Regions from separate parts of the Homo sapiens genome. Here region 2 is linked to region 1. Evidence: promoter capture Hi-C in 16 types of primary human blood cells and fetal thymus (Javierre and others, 2016). All regions are on one chromosome and are shown on one strand. Each heading gives the region's core, a stretch centred on a gene start or on the middle of the fragment in contact. The rest is flanking DNA. Distances are from core to core; before and after follow the strand shown. Region 1 holds the start of SGK2 (serum/glucocorticoid regulated kinase 2). Region 2 holds the start of GTSF1L (gametocyte specific factor 1 like).

Evidence for each region. Contacts are between HindIII fragments. The CHiCAGO score rates a contact against its expected background, and 5 or more counts as called.
Region 2: a contact is called between the fragment with the promoter of GTSF1L here and the fragment with the promoter of SGK2 in region 1, in 4 of 17 cell types (endothelial precursors, total B cells, megakaryocytes and 1 more). The highest score is 7.6, in endothelial precursors.

The regions. Positions count from the first base shown.
Region 1 is chr20:43,557,644-43,560,343 of GRCh38, reverse strand. It overlaps SGK2 (serum/glucocorticoid regulated kinase 2), which reads right to left and starts at 1,317. Exons shown (of 13, transcript NM_170693.3): 1 at 1,185-1,317. The HindIII fragment of the contact is 1,890 bases long and covers 168-2,057 here.
Region 2 is chr20:43,725,729-43,728,428 of GRCh38, reverse strand. GTSF1L (gametocyte specific factor 1 like) reads left to right here and starts at 1,427. Exons shown (of 1, transcript NM_176791.4): 1 at 1,427-2,265. The coding sequence starts at 1,735. The coding sequence ends at 2,181. The HindIII fragment of the contact is 9,111 bases long and covers 1-2,700 here.

The sequences.
Region 1 (2,700 bases), core at 68-2,567:
TATTTTTAGTCGAGACGAGGTTCCACCATGTTGGCTAGGCTGGTCTCAAACTCCTGACCTCAGGTGATCCGCCTGCCTCGGCCTCCCAAAGTGTTAGGATTACGGGTGTGAGCCACTGTACCCGGCCGGTTATTTTAACTTTTATCTTTGTACTATTGTGTAAAGCTTCTCAAGATATTGCTGTTGAGTTAATATTCAAGTACTGAGTTCCTGGTGGGAACCTGGCATGCCCATGGCCCATCACACCCTCCCCCATCACCTTGACTGTGACCCCCATGCCTAAGCAGCCCTCAGTTCCTAAGGCTTTCTTCTCTCTCGCACCACGGTGTTCTAATTTTCTGGCCAGAAGCTGGACATCAATATATTCTCCTAACTCTTCAGACTCCGCAAACTCCCACTCAAGCCCCTCCATGAGTCCTCAAGCCTGTCCCTTTCCTAACTTGCCACAGCCCAGACTTGCCTCCCTCTGTCCCACTGTTACATGGACCTGCTTACAGCTCCCTGGCCCTGCCAAATGGGGTGTGGGGGTGGGACAGTGTCACACAGTTCTCTCTCCTTGGAACATTCCCCAACAAACCTGGTCTTTCCAGCTCACCTTTTCACCTGTTCTCATTGCCTTTCCTGGAAGCCAGATGACCCTCCGATCCCATGCACCCTCTCCTGCTGCTGTCCCTGTCTTCACTGTAACTTGTTCATTTACACGCCTGCCCAGTTCAAGTGCCAACTTGATCTTATTTTGTTCCCACAACCCCACGGGTTAGGAACTATCATCGTCCCTGTTTCAAGGAGGAGAAAACTGAGGCAAGGACAGGGAAGTGACATGATCAAGACAGTTAATAAATGACATAACCAGGATTTGAACCCAGGCCATCTGACTGCAAAGCCCACGGCCTGGAATTTCAGGAAGACAATAGAAAGCTAGAAAAGGAAAAAATGAAGTCAGTGGGAAGGAAGTGAGGATGTAAGTTGGTTAGTTAAGGAGGAAGAAAATTAGGCAGCTGAGAAAGCAGATAGTTGGGAGGGAAGGAAGGAAAGGAAGGAGGGAGAAGGGAAAGAAGTCGCCAAGGAAGAAAGGAAGGAAAGAAAGTAAACAGGTACTAGGAAAGATGTTAGCTAGGTAACTAGTCAATCTGGAGACCAATAGGCGAGCAGGCAGGTATCCTGCTCACAGGTGAGCCTCTCACCTGAAAACTCCAGGTTCCTGCTCAGGTCCTGGGGAGCAGCCCCATGCACGGCTCTGCCCTCTTCTCTCTCTTCATGGTCCTTCTGACTGGAGGCACAATCCTGACTTGTCAAGCAACCTTCCCAGTCAGGAATGACCTGTCACCCACTCGCTCCTGGCTCCCAAACCGGCTCAAGTTCAACCTCCCAGCCCTGCCTGCTGGAAGCTGGCTTCGGGGCCTTCCAGTTACTAATTAACCACTGGACCTGAATTACCAAGCTGGCTGCACACACTGGCTCCTGGATGGGCCCTGCCTGGGGGACTCTCTGAATTTTTTAAAGCACAACTTGTTATGTGACCATGGGCAACTGACTTCAGCTCCCTGAGCCTCATGTGAATTGGTGACGGATGGTGTGTCCTGCTGGAGGGACGGTTTCTGAAGTCCCTTTCAACACTGGAACTGCCGCACTCTCTCAAGGTCCAGCTTAAGTGCTGACTCCTACACAGCCTTCCCTGATTCCCTCCGCTGAGTCATCTTCCCTTTCGCTTGGAACCTAGTGAACCAGCAACTGAAAGGTTGGTCTCACACAACACCCTCCTCCACCCCTTCCCTAATGGGGGCCACCAGCCCCTATGTTCAGTCATTTCATGGAAACTTCCAGGACTGGGCAGCTCATTTCCCCCTGAGCCAGCCTCTGGCAATTTCTTGTGTTAAGCCGAAGACTGCCACCCACAGCCTACCCGACCAAGCACTGCCCTGGCACCGTTCTGGGAGAATCACAGCTGAGTTGAAACCTATGCCCCACTCTGCCCTTCAGAGATTTGAGGCTCAGGAACCAGAGATGAGTTCACCCTGGAGAACAGGGAAGGCTTTCTCGGGGGTTGACCCAAAGCTTCCCAGGCCCTGGGTTCTTTTTTTTTTTTCTTTGAGACAGAGTCTCGCTCTGTCACCCAGGCTGGAGTGCAGTGGCGTGATCTCAGCTCACTGCAAGCTCCGCCTCCCAGGTTCACGCCATTCTCCGGCCTCAACCTCCCGAGTAGCTGGGACTACAGGCGCCCACCACCACGCCCAGCTAATTTTTGTATTTTTAGTAGAGATGGGGTTTCACTGCATTAGCCAGGACGGTATCGATCTCCTGACCTTGTGATCTGCCCGCCTCGGCCTCCCAAAGTGCTGGGATTACAGGCGTGAGCCACCGCGCCTGGCCGGCCCTGGGTTCTAACTCAGGGCACAGGCAGGGCCTGGACCCCTGGACAGGTAAGGAAAGCTCTGCCCAGTGACCCCTCCTGAGCAGGCTGACTTTCACACTGCTTCCTCCATTGCCTTTCCATTAAAATGTCAACAACTTTCTGGTAATTCTGGTGCCTTAAACACCGGCTGCTCTGCTGTGCTCCGGAGGAGCCCTGCATGGCCACACACCCCACCTCCACCAACACACATAGCAGCATGTGTCTGGCCCTGGTCCAGATAGGGGAGGTAGCTGGCCCAAGTGCACAGAGCAAATCAGGGCAGCGCACAAGGTCCTGCCCTTTCCAGA
Region 2 (2,700 bases), core at 178-2,677, 170 kb before region 1:
AAACACACACACACACATACACACACACACACTCACACACACACCTTCCCCAAGGTCACATGGCTGGTAAGTGGCAGGAGGTAGAATTTGAATACAGTCAGCTTCCTTAACCACCACCAAGAATAGGATGGGTGAGCTTTTTCTATAATGGGCCAGACAGAAAACATTAGAGGTTTCTAGGTCATCTGGATTCTGTTGCAACTACTCAAATCTAGCTCAAAAGCAGCCAATGGACAATATATAAACAAATGGGTGTGGCTGTGCTTCAATAAAACTTTATTTACAAAAGCAGATAGCCATCTGGATTTGAATCATGGGCCCATAGTTTGTTGACACATGATCTAGAATAACAAATCCTTGAAGATAGTCAAGGCTTTTGGGGGGAAAACTAATAACAAGCAGAGACTTGCTCTATCAGATATCAGCACATAAAGCTACAAAAATTATTTGGAATTGCATTATATTTATGTATCAATTTAGGATGACTATGTAATTTATGTAATTTAGTTTACAGAGAATATTCATTTATGATTTTGAGTCTTCCTATTCAGGAATATGGTATTTCTCTACTGTCACTCAGATCTTGAGAAACAATTTAACAGGGTGGGGGGTGGGAAGGAGCTCCAGGCCAATTTTTAGAAGAAATCCTACCTAACACCAGACATGTAAATAGAATGTCAGAGGACCAAAACCACTAACACCCTGAGATATGTGTCAATTGCGTCCATTCAGACTTTGGTCCAGTTCTGTGAGGGACAACGGCAGGGTCGACCTAAGATGGGGCGTTTTATAGGAAATGTTTCCCATGTTAAGCTGAACACCAAAAGGCTTCACCTTCTGCGATATATGAATAGATTTAAACCCTTCCCCCACACCCAAGGAGACTAGGCTGCTGTGGGCCTCAGCAGAGCAGAAGGGTAAAGAAAGACGGCCCTGAGAATCACATCCAAAAACCAGCCCTGGCAAAGCGCAGGGGCTCACACCTATCATCCCAGCACTTTGGGGGGCTGAGGCGGGTGGATCACCTGAGGTCAGGAGTTCAAGACCAGCCTGGCCAACATGGTGAAACCCGTCTCTACTAAAAATACAAAAAATTAGCCGGGCATGATGGCAGGTGCCTGTAATCCCAGCTACTCGGGAGCCTGAGGCAGGAGAATCACTTGAACCTGGGAGGCGGAGATTGCAGTGGGCCAAGATCGCACCACTGTACTCCAGCCTGGCAACAGAGCGAGACTCTGTCTCAAATAAAACAAAAACAAAAACAAAAAACAAATACGTACAGTTAAAAGACTTAAGTCACAACATACATCCATGAGCAATTTTAGATGGCAGCATTCCCAAAGCCATCCACCCCTCCCAAGCAGTGCACAATAGCCTCTTCCTGATGACTTAGGCTGCCCATTGTGACCACCGGTGACTGCAGCTTGACATCATAGTATATCCGTGAGTCAAGCGGCTGTGGGTTTTTGGCTCTTGCATCTGCTATAGTTCTGTCTCGGGTGCCATTTGCTAACTCTGTTCTCTGTGTAGCTGCTTTTGGCAGCTCCTCATCTCTCTTCTAATCCACCACTCACAGTCCTAGAGAACAGACCACAAGTTAAGACCGTCACCTACAGAATCCCAAGGGCCAAAACTGGGCAGAGGACAACTCCATCCTTCTTACAAAAGGGCTTCTCCACAAGAAGCATTTCCGTTAGACTCTAGCAGTGAGATACCCTGCTTCAAGAATTTCTCATGGAGCCAGAAGCCTTTGAAATTTGCCCTTATGATCCTCACCACCGAATCCCACTCAGCAGATTCCAGTACCACCTGGCATCGTGCAGGAGAAAGAACCCCAAGAAAGCCAAAAAGATGGCCACCTGCAAATACAACGCCTGCCACGTGGTCCCCATCAAAAATCTGGAGGAACATGAGGCTGTTTGTGTCAACAGGAGCGCTGTGGAAGAAGAGGACACCGAGAACCCTCTGAAAGTCAGTCCTCCTAGTTCAGAGCAGAACGATGACACCCAGCAGGTCTCACCCTGCCTTCCCAGCCCCGATATCTGGAATGTCGATGGCGCTAATTGCCAGCATGTGTTTGTCCTTAAGACTTTTTTTCCTCAAAAGGTTGTTTGTGAAAATGACACGAAAGAGTCAGCAAGAGAGACCAGTCCCCAGAAGATCCTCAGACCAGGACAGTAAACTGCCAGCTGAGGAAGGAGCACACGCCTCATCAATGCATGGAAGAACGTGCAATGCATCAGAATAAAAGACATGCAAAGTAAACTACCCTGGGCTACCTCTTTTTTTAACCTGGCAGATTGATAAATATCAAAAGGCTTAAAATACTCTGCTGGCAAAGGTAGGGCAAAATGGGCACTTTCATAACATTGGTGAGAATGTCAGTTGGTACAACCTCCACAGAGGGCAATTTGACAATAGCTATAAACATTATCAATGCATACAGGCTTTGATTGAGCAATTCCACTTCCAGGCTTCATTCTGTAAATATAATCACACATGTGGAAAATGAGCTAAGTACTAGCTTATTCACTGCAGCATTATTTGCAGCAGCAAAAGAGTTAGAAATGAGCCAGGTGTGTTGAATCACAGCTGTAGCCTGTTACTCTGGGAGCTGAGGCGAGAGGATCGCTTGAGTTCAGCCTGGGCAACATAGTGAGATCCTGTCTTAAGCAACAAAAAAAAAAGTCAAAAATGACC